5 separate regions of the Homo sapiens genome follow, and regions 1, 2, 3 and 4 are each linked to region 5. The links are contacts of gene promoters, found by promoter capture Hi-C in blood cells and fetal thymus (Javierre and others, 2016). All regions are on one chromosome and are shown on one strand. Each heading gives the region's core, a stretch centred on a gene start or on the middle of the fragment in contact. The rest is flanking DNA. Distances are from core to core; before and after follow the strand shown.

What was found. The method cuts DNA at HindIII sites, captures the fragments that hold promoters and counts their contacts. A CHiCAGO score of 5 or more calls a contact.
Region 1: a fragment that was not itself captured here is called in contact with the fragment with the promoter of GDPD5 in region 5 in 1 of 17 cell types (naive CD4 T cells); the score reaches 5.3 in naive CD4 T cells.
Region 2: a fragment that was not itself captured here is called in contact with the fragment with the promoter of GDPD5 in region 5 in 3 of 17 cell types (non-activated CD4 T cells, naive CD4 T cells and endothelial precursors); the score reaches 5.9 in non-activated CD4 T cells.
Region 3: a contact is called between a fragment that was not itself captured here and the fragment with the promoter of GDPD5 in region 5, in 1 of 17 cell types (naive CD4 T cells). The highest score is 5.7, in naive CD4 T cells.
Region 4: a contact is called between a fragment that was not itself captured here and the fragment with the promoter of GDPD5 in region 5, in 3 of 17 cell types (activated CD4 T cells, erythroblasts and non-activated CD4 T cells). The highest score is 5.8, in activated CD4 T cells.

Annotation. Positions count from the first base shown.
Region 1 is chr11:75,364,927-75,368,336 of GRCh38, forward strand. No RefSeq gene overlaps it. Among named protein-coding and RNA genes, the nearest start is that of ARRB1, 15 kb to the left of the region's middle. The HindIII fragment of the contact is 5,328 bases long and covers 1-3,410 here.
Region 2 is chr11:75,318,979-75,322,639 of GRCh38, forward strand. The region is part of intron 1 of ARRB1 (arrestin beta 1); the gene reads right to left. Among named protein-coding and RNA genes, the nearest start is that of MIR326, 14 kb to the right of the region's middle. The HindIII fragment of the contact is 1,381 bases long and covers 1,527-2,907 here.
Region 3 is chr11:75,299,015-75,302,386 of GRCh38, forward strand. All of the region lies in intron 1 of ARRB1 (arrestin beta 1), which reads right to left. Among named protein-coding and RNA genes, the nearest start is that of MIR326, 34 kb to the right of the region's middle. The HindIII fragment of the contact is 1,788 bases long and covers 1,229-3,016 here.
Region 4 is chr11:75,335,894-75,339,643 of GRCh38, forward strand. All of the region lies in intron 1 of ARRB1 (arrestin beta 1), which reads right to left. Among named protein-coding and RNA genes, the nearest start is that of MIR326, 2.6 kb to the left of the region's middle. The HindIII fragment of the contact is 3,357 bases long and covers 1-3,345 here.
Region 5 is chr11:75,524,223-75,527,744 of GRCh38, forward strand. It overlaps GDPD5 (glycerophosphodiester phosphodiesterase domain containing 5), which reads right to left and starts at 1,719. Exons shown (of 17, transcript NM_030792.8): 1 at 988-1,719. RefSeq lists an enhancer at 1,070-1,570 and silencers at 1,417-1,936, 1,987-2,046. The HindIII fragment of the contact is 5,380 bases long and covers 519-3,522 here.

The DNA.
Region 1 (3,410 bases), core at 409-2,908, 160 kb before region 5:
CAGGCTGGTCTCGAACTCCTGGGCTCAACTGATCCTCCTGCCTTGACCTCCCAAAGTGCTGGGATTAAGGCTTGAGCCAGCGTGCCTGGCCAAGATAGCATCTCTTGATTTATACTATGTAAAATGAAAAAGTTAGCATCTGTGCAGTGTTTGATCTCTCCTCTTCTCCTCCAGCCTTCTGACACTGATAGTTATACTGTTACATTGCTAAGAGTTATAATATTTAAATTTATTCTGTAACTATAATGAAGTCTTCCATGCTTTATCTAGAGAGTAATTCTGCTCATTTAAATCCAATAAATAGTATTTTCAATATTACAATTAGAAACAAATTCTAATTTGAGACTATATTAGATTCATAAAACAAGAAAGAACTGCTAATAAAGGGATCAATTAGACAACATGAAAGAGTCCTGGGAAATAAAAAACATGATTGCCCAGATAAAAAATATAATTAAAAAGTCTAGAAGTGGCAGGGCACGGTGGGTCACGCCTGTAATCCCAGCACTTTGGGAGGCCGAGGCAGGTGGATCACGAGGTCAGGAGATCAAGACCATCCTGGCTACATGGTGAAACCCCGTCTTTACTAAAAAATACAAAAAATTAGCAGGGCATGGTGGTGGGCGCCTGTAGTCCCAGCTACTTGGGAGGCTGAGGCAGGAGAATGGCACGAACCCAGGAGGCAGAGCTTGCAGTGAGCCAAGATCGCACCACTGCACTCCAGCCTGGGCAACAGAGTGAGACTCCGTCTCAAAAAAAAAAAAAAAAAAAAAAAAATTCTAGAAGCTAGTGCCAGAAAATAAGGAAGCACTGAAAAAAAAAAAAAAAAAAAAGGAACCTGAAAGAGCTCTCAATAGCCAAAACCGGAACAGTATGAGCAACAAAATAAATAAGGTCATATTGGATTATAACCCAAAGTATAAAATAAATAAACATGAGTCCATAGTGGTCTAAATAAATGGTTGAATAAATAAATACATGGCAGGAAAGGACAGATCTTCCTTACAGGGGAATACCAAATAATATATAGATATACTCTCCCCTCCAGATGGAGTTGAATTAGCCCTCTTGCCTTGAATGTGTGCTGGACTTAGTGACTCACTTCCAAAGAACAGAGTATGGATAGGGAAAAAAATAGTAACTTTAAAGTGGAGAAATCTGGCAAACACTTGAAGTGATCAGGGTTACGTCACCAGCTGATATCATGTGATGAGCCAGACACTCCACTGTTGTGATATTCTCCCCCAAAATACCTAACTCCAGCCTAATCATAAGAAAAATTCCAAATTGAGGAACATTCTGCGGAATACCTGACCAGCCCTCTTAAAACTGTGAAAATGATTTTAAAAACAAGGAAAGACTGAGAAATTGTCACAGAGGAGACCAAGGAGACATGAGGACTAAATACGGTGGGAAATACTGGAGTGGGTCCTGGAACAGAAAAGGACATTAGTAGGAAAACTAGTGAAAATCTGGAGTTTCATTAATAGTAATATATGAATGTTAACTTCTTAGTTTTGATGGACCACAGTTATGTAATGCCACGGACCCTGGTGGACTGAACAAAGGAGGGCAAACATGGGAATAAAAACAAAGACAAGGCCAGGCGTGGTGGTTCACGCCTGTAATCCCAGCACTTTGGGAGGTCGAGGCAGGCAGATCACGAGGTCAGGAGATCGAGACCATCCTGGCTAACACGGTGAAACCCTATCTCTACTAAAACTACAAAAAATTAGCCAGGCGTGGTGGTGGGCACCTGTAGTCCCAGCTACTTGACAGGCTGAGGCAGGAGAATGGCGTAAACCCATGAGGCGGAGCTTGCAGTGAGCCAAGATCGCTCCACCGCACTCCAGCCTGGGCAACAGAGCGAGACTCCCTCTCAAAAAAAAAAAAAAAAAAAAAAAAAATCAAAGGCAAAAGAGTATATTTGGAAGAAGGGGTTAGGGGGCTCCTTGCTTCTAGTGAACAAGGGCCCTGAGCTTCTAGAGCCCTTTGTATTTACTAAGTAAAGGAGATAAGGAGAAGGGGGTGGTTGTCGGTCAGCTGCTTGACTTAGTACATGGCCTGCATGACTACATTCTTTGAAGACTAGGCTCCAGATGTCCCCATAGATAACCTCAAGGAGCACGGCACCAGGGAGTGACTGCCCTCAGCATACCTTCTGGTAGCAGGTGCAGGTGCGAGTTTGCCCACATTCTGTATTCATGATAAACAGTTTGCTGTTTGATCATATAGCCTCCAGTGGAATGCTGAGTTGGTCACAACGCTCAGGCTTTCGGCTCCCATCAATGTAAGATGCTCACATTAGAAGAAAGTGGGTGAAGGGTATATGGGAACTTTGTATATTATCTTTGCAACTTTTCTAAAACCCTTTTTTTTTTTTTGAGATGGAGTCTTGCTCTGTCACCCAGGCTGGAGGGCAGTGGCGCAATCTCGGCTCACTGCAGCCTCTGCCTCCCGAGTAGCTGGGACAACAGGCGCCTGACACCACTCCCAGCTAATTTTTGTATTTTTAGTAGAGATGGGGTTTCACCATATTGACCTGGCTAGTCTTGAACTCCTAACCTCAAGTGATCCACCCACTTTGGCCTCCCAAAGTGCTGGGATTACAAGCATGAGCCACTGCACCCAGCATCCTACAAATCTAAAATTACTCCAAAATAAAAAATTTATGTGAAAAAGTGGCTGGGTACAGTAGCTCATGCCTGTAATCCCAGCACTTTGGAAGGCTGAGACAGACGGATCACCTGAGGTCAGGAGTTTGAGACCTGGGCCAACATGGAGAACCCCATCTCTCCACTAAAAATACAAAAACTAGCTGGGTGTGGTGGCGCATGCCTGTAATCCCAGCTACTCAGAAGGCTGAGGCAGGAGAGAATTGGTTGAACCTGAGGGGGGCGTGGAGGGGGCAGGTTGTAGTGAGCCAAGATCACACCACTGCACTCCAGCCTGGGGCAGCAGAACGAGGCTCTGACTCAAAAAAAAAAAAAATTCATATAGTTCTCCAAAAATATAGAGACAAAAAATAATTCTTTATTTTACCTTTTTTTTTTTTTTTTTTTTTTTAAGACAAGGTCTCACTCTGTTGCCCAGGCTGGAAGGCAGTGGCACAATCATGGCAGCCTTGACACCTAGGCTCATATGATCCTTCCACCTCAACCTCCCAAGTAGTTGGGACTACAGGTGCATGCCACCATACCTGGCTAATTTTTTACCTTTTATAGAGACAGGGTCTCACTATGTTGTCCAGGCTGGTCTTGAACTCCTGGGCTCAAGTAATCCCCCTGCCTCAGCCTCCCAAAGTGCTGGAATTACAAGTGTGAGCCACCATGCCCAGACACAATATTTTTAAATAGGTAGAAAAAAATCAAGTCATAAAGCATCAATTCAGGAGGTCTGATATCTGTTTA
Region 2 (3,661 bases), core at 967-3,466, 200 kb before region 5:
CCTTGTTTGATTTTCATAACAATCTTGCCAGGTAGGTTCTATTATCTTTATTATAGAAACAACTGTAGCACACAGAAGTCAATAATTTACCCCGGGTCCCAGCCAGGAAATTACGGAGACCAGAACTGAACCTGGTTCTATCTATGTTAGGTAGCTAGAACCTGCTTGAACCACAGCTGGCTCCAACAGGTTCAAACCCCATAACCTGCTCGCCCAGGGGAGCAGAGCCCAAGCCTCAGGAGGGAAGGATTAGCACAGCCTCAAGCCCTGGGGAGCCCTGGCAAGCCCCCAGGATCCTCCCCTTCCACTGCCTGCGTGCTCTCCAAGCCCAGGCCCGCAGCACAGAGACCCGGGACCAGGTGAGGGGGCCAATCACTGGTGCCACTCCAGGAGGCCAGGGTGCCCATGCCCAGATGAAAGGTTCCTCACACATGTCCTAAGTGCCAGATCTGACCACACTGTTTCAGACTTTGCACAGGCTGCTCCTGCCTGGAATGCCCTTCCCACCCTGCCTCTCTGTCCAACTCTTACTCATCCTTCAAAATGCAGTTGGGCTCTGGGAAGTGTTCCCTCAGCACCTTGTCCGTCCTCACTGCTCCATCAGGTCACCCTGCGATTTCCTGGCTGCTCCTCCAGCCATTCACTGCACAAAAATTTAATAAGCATCTGCCCTGCCCCAGGCACAGTGCAAGGTGCTAAGGCTACAAGGCCGAGGTTGGGCTCTGTCAGGCCAGGATGTACGCTGGTTTCATCCCTGTGAAGCTCTGTAAGCCAGGAGGAGCAGACAGGGAAAGGGACCGTAAGGGTCCCCAGGGGGACCCCTTGGGGTTTGAAAAATTAGAAGTACTCAAATTCTACATTCCAGGCCACTTGCCTAGGTGGTGGGGTGGAGGGTAGCCCCCACCCAGTGCTTCCAGGCCTGGAGTAAAGATGCTTGGCAAAGCAGCACAAAACTCCTACCAAACAAATACGAAGCATGCTATGTACCTCTGTGTCAAGAGGCCCAGTTGGCTGTGAACTCCCCAGGAAACCGAAGCCCCATCGGGGACAGGGATGAGACCAAAGTCCCCCCCAGAGCAGGAGGCAGCCCTGGAGTGGTCCTGCAGCCTCTTCTCCCAGGAGATTTGGGCTTCAACAGAGGAGGAAGAGAAGAGGTGAGGTGCCCCCATCCTGAAGGATTTGCCTACAGACCCTCCACTGGTGAAGAGGGCATTAAGGGTGCACCCTGGGAAGCCACAGCCCACAGAAGCCCCAGGCCGGAGAGGATGGCTGCTGCCTGCCCAAGGTGGGGAGGGGGCTGGAGTGGAGCCAGGCTGGCGGAGGAAACATCTTGATCAGCAAGCAGGAGGAAAGGAGGAGGAATGAGAAAGGAGGAAAGAGCCAGACATGCAAACTCCTCCGCCTCCTCCTTCCAACCAAAACAGAATCCCCAGCAGACTGAGACCTGTGGAGAAGGAGGCGGGAAAGAAGCTGAGGCCTCCAAGGGCGGGTGGCTGGATGGTGGCCCTGAGGCTGGAGCCTCTGAAAGCTTGGGGGGCTGGATAGCCCCACCAGAGATGGGGAGGGATCAGTCATCAGGGCCTGCTCAGCTCTGTTCCCGCAAGGGCTGAAGGCTCCAGGAGGAAGAGGCCATGGGCTCCACATGGTAACTCCGATTCCTCCTTCGAGACCCCACTCAAGTACCCAACTCTTCCCAAAGCCCTCAGACCTGACCTCAGCTGGGCTGGCTCCAGCACCGCACAAACTCAAAAACATTGTAGAGTAAAATTCATCCTAGTCTCTGGAAAGCCTGGAATCTGCTAGGAAACCCAAGGAACCCAGAAGAGGAAGTGCCAGCACAGAGATGGCCCTGGACTCCCAGACCACTGGGCGCTGGGACACACTTCATTTCCATTCGCAAAGCCTTCATGGGGGCCTTTTCCTCTGGTGGGACAGGAGGCTGGGATGAGGAGACAGGAGGGGCCATGGGAGCTGAGCAATAGGGAGACATCATCTTTGCCCCTCTGCCCTCAACACAACACACGTGCACAGACACACACATACACTCACTAGTGGGGGCTAAGAGGCTCCCAGGGACCTATGTGTCTTGGACAAATCCTTTGACTTCTCTTGTTCTCTGTTTTCCCTCACCTGCACACCTGCTTTCCTGCCCTCCTTCCTTTCAGGAGAGGCACAAGGTAAAGTTTAGGCCTCCAGGTAGGTAAGAACAAAGGCCTCTGGTATGACCTCAGCACGTGGAAGAAAATCCCACCCCACGTGGAAGAAAATCCCACCCCATTCCTGCTCACCCCCCCCCACCACCATCCCCCCACCTCTTCCTCAGGACTCTATTATGGCAGAGTGAGCCTGGGAGGCAGAAGCTGTGGTCAGGAAAGTAGGCAGCCAGGCTTGGAGCCCAAGGGGAGAGTGACCACCAAAGTAACCCATCTCCTGTCCAGGGCCTTTTCTCTCCTTCTTCTCTCCCTGCTGGCGGAAACCACCTTCCTTACACACATGCTCACCACCATTTGAGAGAGGCTTTATGGGATGACTTTAGTCTGTGTTTTCCTTACAGCCCTCATCTGAGTTACTTGAAGCTGCTGGAATTTAGGGGTCCTTCTTTCATTCACTTTTTTATCCTAGTGAACTGGTCTGCCTTGGTTGGAACCGGCTAGAGGGCATCAGTCAAGTGACCTCCCCTCACTCAACTTGTTTCTTCATCTGTAAAATGGGATGATAGCAGTGCCCACCCCATCAGGTTGTTCTGAGGATTAAGTGAGTGTAGTGTCTGGCACCTAGTAATACACATTAGATCTTCTTATGAATATTCAACAGAATTTATTGAGCACCTATTGTGTGTCAGATGCTGTTGGCCATCAGACATATGGTGAATAGGGCAGATTTGGGCAAAGGGCCCTGTCTACATAAAGCTTCCCGTCTGGCCAGGGAAACTGCAGGGCTCTGCACTACACAACTCCTTTGGTTACCATGACACAGATCACAGTGCAAACAGAACACAGAGCGTTCCTACAAGCAGGTAACACAGCAGCCCTGCAAGACAGGCATCATACAAACAAGTATATGGTGACTCTCACAATAAATGCTATAAAGTGGAGGGCTCCAAGAGCCCAGGATGGGCACAGACCAGCCTAAGGAGTCAGGGAAGTCTTCCCCAAGAAAGTGACATCCGGGCTAAGAGTTGAAGAAGCAGCAGTACTAACTCCAAAAGGGACAAGGGCTGGGGTGCTGAACTGGGGCAAAACAAAACCAAACCTACCAGCCAGACGCCTGTTATCCCAGCACTTTGGGAGGTTGAGGCAGATGGATCACCTGAGGTCAGGAGTTCGAGACCAGTCTGGCCAACATGGCAAAACCCTGTCTTTACTAAAAATACAAAAACTAGCCAGGCATGGTGGCACATGCCTGTAATCCCAGCTACTTGGGATTCTGAGGCAGGAGAATCGCTTGTACCCAGGAGGCAGAGGTTGCAATGAGCCAAGATCATGCCACTGCACTCCAGCCTGGGCAACAGAGCAAGACTCCATCTCAAAAAACAAAACAACAACAACAAAAAACACCAAACCTACTATGGGAGGGTTCTAGGGGAAGACAGGGGAATCACTGAAGGTACAAGGCCAGCAGGGACATGGGGGCAGGGCCTGGTCACCAGAAGGCCAGATCA
Region 3 (3,372 bases), core at 873-3,372, 220 kb before region 5:
AGTAGGCAAATTGATAGAGACAGAAGGTAAATTAGTGGTTGCCAAGGGTTGATGGGAGTGGGAAATGGGGAGTGACTGCTAATTGGTACAGAGTTCTTTGGGAGGTGATGAAAATGTTCTGGAATTGGATAGTGGTGATGGTTATACAAACTTGTGAATATATACAAAAACCACTGAATTTTACCCTAAAAGTGTGAATATTATGGTATATTACATCTCAATTAAAAAAAAAAACAACTAAAAAAAGACAGAGAGAATGAAAAAAAGGAAATGTGCCTAAATACTGACAGGAGTTGAAGAAGACTCCGCCCACCCACACGCTTCTTTATACCTATAATTTTTCTGTTATACAATGAGCATAAAGTACTTTATAAAGATGCTTGGATTTCCCTAACAAGATATGTCTCAAGTCTTGGAGAAAGGAGAATCTAGGAAAAAAAAAAAAAAGTAAGTGAAGTAGGGAAAATCTGGACCCTAAACTCTGAATGCTTTGATGTAAGAGTCTCTGGTTCTGTGATTTTACAATCCAGGATCCATGTTTCTGTGAATCCTGAGATCCCTCCCCAGGCCTAATGTATCGTATACTCAGCTATCCTTTTTCCAGGAAGCCTTCCCTGACTACCCTCTAAGTCTGGGTTAGGAGCCCCTCAGCTCCACATCCAGTGTGTCCCCATTCATAGCACTTACCATACTTTGTAATGGTCTGATAACACCCTCTGCTTCACTTTTATAGCAACAATGAAAGTAGAGATATTATTTGTGTTATATTCACTGTATTTCTGGGGCATAGCATGGTACCTAGGATATAGTAGGTGCTCAATAAATAAATATAGGATGACTATGGTTAAATGAATGCCCTAAGAGAATTATTCAAGTATGAGGATGGATGAAGTTTAAAAAGATGGTGGTAGGACAGGCGCAGTGGCTGACGCCTGTAATCCCAGCACTTTAGGAGGCCGAGGGGGGCAGATCACGAGGTCAGGAGTTTGAGACCAGCCTGGCCAACATGGTGAAACCCTGTCTCTACTAAAAATACAAAAATTAGCCGGGTGTGGTGGCACGTGCCTGTAATCCCAACTACTCAGGAGGCTGAGGCAGGAGAAACACTGAACCCAGGAGGCGAGGTTGCAGTGAGCTGAGATTGCACCACTGCACTCCAGCCTGGGCAACACAGTGAGACTCTGTCTCAAAAAAAAAAAAAAAAAAAAGAAAGAAAGAAAGAAAAGAAAGCTTATCCAGGTTATCCAGGAGAGAAACCAGGTCCAGTTACTGCTGTAAGTGAGTTACAAATATTAACTCACTTATTTCTCCAACAACTCTATAATAAGTGTTACTATCATCCCATTTCACAGATGAGAAAACTGAGGCACAGGGAGGTTAAGTAATTTGCCTAGGGTCACACAGCAAGTAAGCAACAGAGCTAGATATCAGAGCCCAGATACTCCAGCTCCAGAGACCACACTTTTAATCACTCACAATACTGCCTGAGAGGTGGGATTATGTGGTTCTGTCTGGGGAGTCAAAAAAGCCTTCAGGGCTGGCCGCTGTGGTTCACACCTTTAATCCCAGCACTTTGGGAGGCCGAGGTGGGCGGATCATGTGGTCAAGAGATTGAGACCATCCTGGCCAATATGGTGAAACCCCATCTCGACTAAAAATACAAAAATTAGGGCCGGGCGCGGTGGCTCACGCCTGTAATCCCAGCACTTTGGGAGGCCGAGGCGGGCGGATCACGAGGTCAGGAGATCGAGACCATCCTGGCTAACACAGTGAAACCCCGTCTCTACTAAAAAACACAAAAAAATTAGCCGGGCGTGGTGGCGGGCGCCTGTAGTCCCAGCTGCGCGGGAGGCTGAGGCAGGAGAATGGCGTGAACCCGGGAGGCGGAGCTTGCAGTGAGCCGAGATCGCGCCACTGCACTCCAGCCTGGGCGACAGAGCGAGACTCCGTCTCAAAAAAAAAAAAAAAAAAATACAAAAATTAGCTAGGCATGGTCGTGGGCGCCTGTAGTCCCAGCTACTCTGGAGGCTGAGACAGGAGAATCGCTTGAACCCAGGAGGAGGAAGTGGCAGTGAGCCAATATCATGCCACTGCACTCCAGCCTGGCAACAGAGCGAGACTCCATCTCAAAAAAAAAAAAAAAGCCTTCAAGGGAGGAGGTAGCAATGAGGAAGATCTTGAAGGACACACAAGGTGCAGAAGGTGACCACACTGCAGGCAGAGGCCTGGAGAGGGCAACTGAATCCACCAGGTGCTCAGGAGACAGCGAGCCTCTGGTGTGGCTGGAGTGTGCCCCAAGTGCCTGGGAGGAGCCCCAGGGGAAGAGGCTGGGCTGGAGAATGGTCCGTTTGCTCCACAGAGAATCACGGAGCACCTCTATGTGAGGGCCTTCGGCTAGGAGGGTAGGGCTGTGAAGGGCCTTGAGTGCCGGGCTAAGGAACTTGGACCTTATCCAGAAGGCAATAGGGAGCCATGCACATTTGAGGGGAGGGAGAATGACTGGCCAGGGCCATATTTTGGACCCAGAGATGCCCTCAATCCCATACGTTCCCCCATCCCTGTCCAATAGCAGCCATGGCTCAGCTGGGTAGGGTGGGGAGACGCAAGGGGGCATTCACTCAGACGCAGCCACCCTACATTCTGACCCACTTTCCTCAGTGTGAGAGCAGCCATCAGGGAGCAGGGAGGTGCGGGGAGCAGGTGGCAGCGGCTGCAGAGAGGTTCCTAGGCCCTTATCGCATTCTCCCTGGTAGCAGAGTTATTTGTGTACCGGCTCGTCTGCTCTGCCAGAATTTCCCAGCCCTCCCTGTGTCAGAGTGTGGCCCTTCTGTTTACCCACCATCAGTGCACCTGCTTCTCAGGACAGCCCAGGAGGGGGAAGGAGGCAGGAAGGCAAGAAATGTCACCCCATTTCAGAGATTTCCGGAGCCTGAGGGAGCACAGTCCCACCTGCTTCATTTCCCAGAGGGAGAAATCAAAGCCCGAGTGAGAGAAGAGTCTCACACCAGGGCCAGGAAGCTTGGGCTCAGGGAGACTCGCTAGTGTGCCCAGAGTCAGACTGGGATGGGGACCGCCGGCTTCTGTGGTTCCCGTCTCCTGTCACATCCCTGCTCAAATCTGCCATAGCTCCCAGGGCACAGGGCAGTGCCTGGCAGGCCAGAGGGGTCAGGGGTGGTGGCTGGGGAGTGAGGGGTTCTGGCCAAGTCAGACTCCTGGGCTGCAGACTTCCCACAGACTTCTAGGCCGACAGCAATTCCCCAAGCCTCCTGCCGCATTCACGGGTTCACTTCTTTGGCCATGAAGCATATTTTTGAAAATTCTCAGGTGGTGCAGAGTGAGGAAAGAGGGGGCCATGGACAGAGGGGAGAGTTT
Region 4 (3,750 bases), core at 417-2,916, 190 kb before region 5:
CCCCTTTTATAGACGGGGACAAAACATGAGACTTGCTGTGCACCTATTGCATACTAAAGATGCCAAGGGGCTTTCCACACGTGACAACTCACAGATACCCTGTGAGAAACCAAGGCTCACTCAGTGTCTGGGGCTGGGCCTGAGAATGAGCCTGCAGCCCTGCTCTCCCATCTCGCAGCCCGTGCCTCTGCCCTGTCTCATCTCAGTCTGGCATGGACAGCTCAGAAGGCAGTGGGCAGGCACGCTGAGACTCAGTAGGTTGAGGAAGAAGAGGCCTCCAGCTACCAAGGCGGAAGAGTAGCTGAGGGCTCAATATATTTAATAGAAATCAAAAAAGTGAGAATCAACCGTGCCCTCTCTGGATGTGTCTGAGGAAGAGCACATGGCCCTTGGGAGCCTGAAACCTGTTTGAAAGCAGTCACCTTACAGACTCAGGGCCTGATGTCCTCCCCACACCCTGCCAAGCTGCAGATGGCCCCACCCCTACCTCCCACTGTCCACATGCTAGGCCTTCCAGACCCTTCTGCTGACTCCTCTCAGCGCCCAAGGCAGCCACCCAGTGCTTGCCCTGGCCTGTTCAAGTCCTACTCCTGTCCTTCACTAATGCTTGCTTAATTCGTGGATATACCTACTCTACGAATCTTTATGAGAAGATACTGTAGGGTGACCCACAGTCCTGATTTGCCCAGGAGTGAGCTGAGGGGTTTCCTGAGATGCGAGACTGAGACTGTCCCAGGAAAATTGGGATGGCTGACGACCCTCATGTACTGCATGCCTGGTCCCTGGGCTGGGTGCCAAGGACACATTTATCTACCAAACATAGTCACTGCCCTCAAGAAACTTCCAGTCGGAGAGTGGCTGCCACTCAATGAGAAACCACTGTCAAAGGCACCTGTTCAGCCCCTCACACACATGATCCATCACCACCCTATGAGGGGAATATTATCACCTCCGTGGTATGCATAAGAAAACTAGGGCTCAGAAAGGTGGCACAATGTGCCCAGAGTCAGAGTTACAAGTGACCTGCTAAGATTTGAACTTGATCCAATGAAACAGAAAAAGGGCAGTTTCCAGCATGAACATTATGGAGATAGAAAAAGATAGACATGTTTTATTTAATTCATTTTGTAGCTCCAGTGTCTGGCATGTTCTAGGTATTCAGGAAATGCGTGAAGGGAGAGAGGGAGATCTAAGCCTTATTTAATTATCTCCAGGCTAGGAGATTCCATCCCTCAATTCAAAAGCCATACATTTCCCTTTTCAAAGTCAGTTTCAGACCAGGCACAGTGGCTCACACCTATAATCCCAACACTATGGGAGGCTGAGGCAGAAGGATCTCTTGAGCCCAGGAGTTTGAGACCAGCCTGAGCAACACAGTGAGACCCCATCTCCACAAAAAATCTTCGAGGCTGCAGTGAGCTATGATCGTGCCACTGCACTCCAGTCTGGATGACACAGCAAGATCCTATCTCAAAGGAAAAACAGAAAAGGAAAAAAAAAGTTTTGACTGTTTTCCTTCAGCACGAGGACCAGGAAGGAAGTAAGAAGAGGGAAAGGGTGCTTTTTCTTTAAGTCAGCAGCTCGGGGCTCACTTCCTCCAGGGAATCTTCCCTGACTCACTCCCTAACCCAAGTCTGGCCCCACACTGTGCCAGGCCCCAGTCAGGAGCTGGGAGTCCAAGAGACAAGAGATACACATTTGCCCTCGAGCAGAGAGGGAACTGACTTGTTAGCAGTCAACTACAATGTAAAGTGCCATCCGGGAAGCCTGCACAGTGCTAAGGGAGCCTGGAAGAGGCCATTCACTCTACCTGGGCAGGGAGCAGTCAAGGGAGGGCTTCATGTCTACAGCAGGTGCCCTGTGCAGTTGTTCAATGAATTTCATTGAAATGTCTTTTTTTTTTTTTTTTTTTTTTTTTTTTTTTGAGACGGAGATTCACTCCTGTTGCCCAGGCTGGAGTGCAATGGTGCTCAAGTGATCCGCCTGCCTCGGCCTCCCAAAGTGCTGGGATTAAGGGTGTGAGCCACCGCACCCAGGCTAAAATGTTTTTAAGTTCAACCTGAAAATATAAGGAATATTTCACCAGAGGAAGAAGGGCATTCCAGCTAAAGAGATCGGCTTGAGCAAAGGCACAGAGGCGTGAAAAGTACAAAGACTGTTGAGGAAGATCCAAAAAAGTCAATGCAGCCAGGTTGTTAGCAGTGTGGTGGGGACAGCTGGGAAAGGAGTGTGGAAGGGACATTAGAGACAGATCCTGAAGGGCCTCCAGTGCCACCTAGAGAATGGGGACTTTCCCATAGGACATGGGGAGCAGTGGATCAGGCCTTAGGCTGGGAAGAATGACCAGATGTGAATTTCAGAATAACAGGATGGCTTGGAGGGTTGGGACTGAGCAGAAAGACAGCAACTAGAAGACAATTGTAATGATCCAGGCCAGGAGTGGGGCTTGACCTGAGCCAGTGGCGGTAGAATGAGGAGAACAGTACTTTGGGAGCCATGTCTCTATCACCATTCAGTTTGGATCCCCTGAACTGGGGCTGCCCACAGGAAGGCATGGTTTTCTCTTCTCCAGGGAGCTCAGCACACCCCCATCCAGGTCTACACTCAAATGGAAGTTGAGGCCAGAGCCTCAGTGTACAGAAACTCAGGTCTTTCTGTACACTGGGTCAGGGCTCAGTGTGGGGCCAGGTCATGGTTCTTTGAAAGTTCTCCCTACTACAAAGTTTACTCTGCAAATGGTGAACATCAGAGGTGGCTGAATTGTTTCAAGTATGCACAGTGAATCACTGCTGTACTGAATCGCTGCTGTGGAACAGTCAGCGCAGGGAGAAACGACAACGCATATTAATCACTTGATTATGATGTGTAATCATTTTTGTCATTTTTAGAATGTCAAAAAAATCTGTTGCAAAAAAAAATCTCCTTATTGAGTTTTAAAACGTCTGTAGGTTTCTCCCAGTACCCTGGGGCAATAGAGACCCATCATAACATCAACCAGTGATGAGCCCTGCTAATGTGCTGGGTGCTTTAATTAGCACAGCTGTAACCGAGAAAGGATGAACACATTATCTCCAGAGGCTGGAAAACTTGCCTACAGACATGCAATTACTGGTAAAGGGGAGGGGAGAACCCCAGCCTGCTGCCTCCTCTCCACCACTCCACGTGGCCTCAGTGTGCCCAAAGATAGCCCTCCAATCTGTAGAGACCAGCGCACATGGCCCCTGGCTGCCAGCCCCAAAGCCTGGAGCTGTTTCTCCTAAGACATAGTTTCTCAACTGTCTCATGCCCATGGGCTCCTCTGGGAAGAGCCATCAGATCTCTGCAGTGTCTCCTGGGCTAGAGGGAAGCTTTCCTCTCCATACCCTCAGGACAGTAGACCCTGGTTTCCAATGGCAGGTTTGCTGAGCCCAGTGTCTCCTGATATACCCACCCCATTTTCTTTCTCCAGGCAGAAACACTTACTGTGATGCCCTGTGGCAGAACTTTCACTTTTCACCCTAGTTTTTTTGTCCTCAAGCAGTCTGCATTCCCAAGACACTCCTTACTGACAGCAGATGAAACCAGTGCCTGACACTATGCCGGCACATAGTAGGTTTCTCAAGTCTGCTGAAGGAAGTCAGTCCTGGATGAAAACACATGTCACAGAGATACTGCCAGGAAGAGTACTACCTCTGGCTCACACAAACGCACTTTCCAACCAGGTCGTGAGTCCCTACTTCTGGGGAGCTGCCTCTGATCCTTAACCTCTGG
Region 5 (3,522 bases), core at 469-2,968:
ACCTTCCATTTGGGCCAAAGGCAATGCGGTTGCAGGCATTCCTCGGGGCCCCAGCAACCAACCACACTAATTCTCACCACAGCCTCATACATGGTCGCCCAGATCTCACATCAGCGATAGGGAAAGCCCCAGCCACCTATCCAGAAGATCCTAACTGGGGAGGAGTGTGCATACCTTGAAGGATGCTCAGGAAGGTTTTCTCAAGTCTACTTGTGGCTCAAGGACTCACTGGCTTTAGGATCGGACAACTGGCACTCCCTTCGGGTGGGCCTCAGTGTCCCCATTAGTAATGTGAGGGAGGTGAGTCACGTGAGCCACATCTCCAGCCACCCCAGAGGGGCTACATCTCCAGCTCTGACAGACCCTTACTTGGGGATCTCTGCAGTGAATTCACCAACAGATAAGCACGTCTCAGGACCTCCAGAGTGTCTTAGAGACCCTGGAGTCTGACACACAAGGGCCAGGAGCTGCTGCTCTCACATCCTGGGCCCACAGGGAGAGAAGCTTTGGAACTGGGAAGCTTCCCACCTCTACCCTCAACTCTGAGTCACCTTTCCTCGCGGGTGACATGGCCAGGGAGCGGGAGGCAAGAAGAAGCCACTTCCTCAGCTTTAGCATCAGCGCTCAAGTGCTCTGCCTCTTCCCCCTCTATCCTCTCCCGCTTCCCCAGTCTCCTCCCCGCAGTGAAAGGAGGTCACTCAGCCCCGTTAAGCCTCAGTTTCTCCATCTGCAAGCGCCGATAATAATACACAACACCTATTTCAGGAGTAGCAGTGAGGCTTAGGCGGGGCGGGGCGGGGCAGGGCGCGAACCCGCACACAATGGGCGCTCAATAAGTACCCGTTTTCTTTCTTTCCCCTCCCCTTCCCGCGCCCCCTCCCAGCCAGTTCCAGCCTCTGCTTGTTTCCCCTGACACTCCCTCCGCTGGCCCCCGCGCTGCCGCGATGGGGTCGGGGACCGCTCCTGCCGCGCATCCGGGGCTCTCACCTGCAGCCTTGGCTCTCGCAGGCCGCCGGGACAGAAGGGGACCCCTGTGTTATCTTCGGGGCAGGCGCTGAACCCCTCACCTGAGGCGGGACGAAGGTGACAGCCTGGGCTCGCGGCACCAGCCCGGCGGTTCGGTCCGACTGTCCTGCCCGCCTAGGACCCCTCACCGAGCGCACGACCCGGCCAGGGCTTCCCGGGCGCTCGCGCTGTTCCAAGCTGTTCCAACTGAAGGTTGGGGTCTCGTGAAGCCAGAGGCTGGGGGGGTCCGGGGTCCCGTGCACCGGAGGCGAGGGCCTGGGGCCACACTGCGCTAGCCCTGGAGCTGGGGTTCCGACCCTCACTGACGGAAAGGCGCGGAGCGACCCTGCAACCACGGACCGGTACGGCGGCGTTAGGAGCGTCCCGTCCCGGCGCAGCGGGTCAGGGCCGGGGCTCCGCGCGTCCCGGCCGCACGCCCCGAACCGCGGGGCTGGGACGGGCAGGGCAGGGCAGGCGCCGGCGGGGAGGCGCGGCGGCCGGAGCCCCGCGGGGAAGTCTTTCCAGGTCCCGACTCGGCTCTCTCTGCAAAACGGGGCGAACCTCGGCGCGGCGGCCGACTCCCGAGCTCCCGGCCGCGGCTCCACTTCCTCCTCTTCCCCTGCTCCCTCGCCGCTCGCTCAGCGCCGCGCCGCTGCCACCTCCGCTGTCATCCCCGCCACCCACCCCCACCGGAGCCGCAGCCCGAGCTCAGCCGAAACAGCGCCGCCCAGCGCCCCAGCGCCAGCCTGCGCGGCCCCGCCCGGACGGGGCGGAGTCAGCAGAGACCCCGCCCCCGGCCGGCTGCGGGCAGGGGCGGGGTGCGCGCCCTCTCCCCTTCCCGGGCCTCGCGCGTGGGGCCGCAGGAGCCAATCCGAGGGTGGGAGCGGAGCGGCGCCCTGCGGAAAGCGGATTCTACCTCGGAGAGGGCGGGGCGGACAATGGAGAGGTGCGGCTGCAAGAGGACAATGGCGGGGCTGGGGGTTCGGAACGGGCCGAATCGGGGAGGGGGTTGGCCTCGGGACCCGGAAGGAGGGAGAGGCGAGAGGGCTGGCTTGCCTGGGACGGGGGCATGGGGACTGCTGTGCGGGGATTGCGGGGGTCACGGGGAAGGAGCAGGGGCCAGTGTAGGAAAAGAAGCCGGGGCGAGGCAAGGTGGAGGATATCCGGGGTCAGGGGTCCCAGGGACGCTGGAGCGAGCCCTCCTGAGTGGTGGGATGCCACCGACACCTTGCTTCTCCCTAGCTTCTAGTGCTCGGCGCTCAGAGGTGAGAGTTGGGCTGGGAAGTGTTCAGATTTCAGGAAACGGTGAAAAATAAGTTTTTGGAAATGAGCGAATTTGTCTTCCACAAGCCTCCCTTCCCTGCGCCCATCCCCGAGGAGGAGCGTCGTGGTCAATTTTAAAAATACGAACTCAAGAGCAGAGTTGTGTGAGGACACACACTTCGAATCGTGATGCATCTGCAGTCCGCTCCCGCCCCTTCCCACCCCGCGCGTTGGGTGCAGGAGCCGTCTTTATTTTCTATTTCATTTTATTTTGAGACAGGGTCCCGCTCTGTGGCCCAGGCTGGAGTGCAGTGGCACTATCACGGCTCACTGCAGCCTCGAACTTCCAGGCTAAAGAGATCCTCCCACCTGTGCCTCCGGAGTAGCTGTGACTACAGGCGTGCACCACCACATCTGGCTAATTTTTAAATTTTTTGTAGAGACAGGGTCTCCCTATGTTTTCCAGGCTGGTCTCGATCTCCTGGGTTCCGGCGATCCTCCTGCCTCGACCTCCCAAAGTGCTGAGATTATAGGTGTGAGCCCTGTGCTTGGCCAAGGAGCCGTCTTCAGTGTGTGCACAGGACCAGGCGCAGAGAAGGTGTTGGAGGGAACTGATGTATGAATGAAAGTTGAATGTGTGCCGCGGGGGAGTGGGGTAGGGACCATGTGAAAGCCGCTAACTGGCCTGGGGAGCTAAGGGATGTTGGTGGCACAGTACAGTCTCTTTGTAAACCTCACACCAACCTTATGTTGTGATAGGTACCCCATTTCACAGATGAGGACTCAGCACAGAGAGGCTAAGTGACGTTCCCGAGACCACACAGCTGGCACAGAGTTCTATCCACCCATCATTATCAAATTCTAGGGTAAAGCTGTGTGGCTTTAACAGGTTACTCTCCCTCTCTGAGCCTCTGTTTCCTCATCTATAAAAGAAGAATAAAGGTGCTACTTGGCAGGGAACCAGGTGAGGGACTGGGCAGGCAGCAGGCTTCAGAGGGTGAAGCATGGGCATTCCCTGCAAAAGAAATGGCATCAGACTATGGCTGAGAGACTGGTTGGAAGAACAAAGAAGAGGGTGAGCTGGAGGCTGAAGTTCAGGCTGCGGACTTGAGGGTGCCCTGTCTTCTTCAGGCCCAGGGGTTGGGAGTAGGCAAGTTGGGCCCAGGAAGTTGGGACTGGTCTCTGGAGCCTGAGGGCTGGGAGAAGGCAGTTTTGCCTTTACTTGTTGAACTTGACGCTAAGAAACCTTGTGGC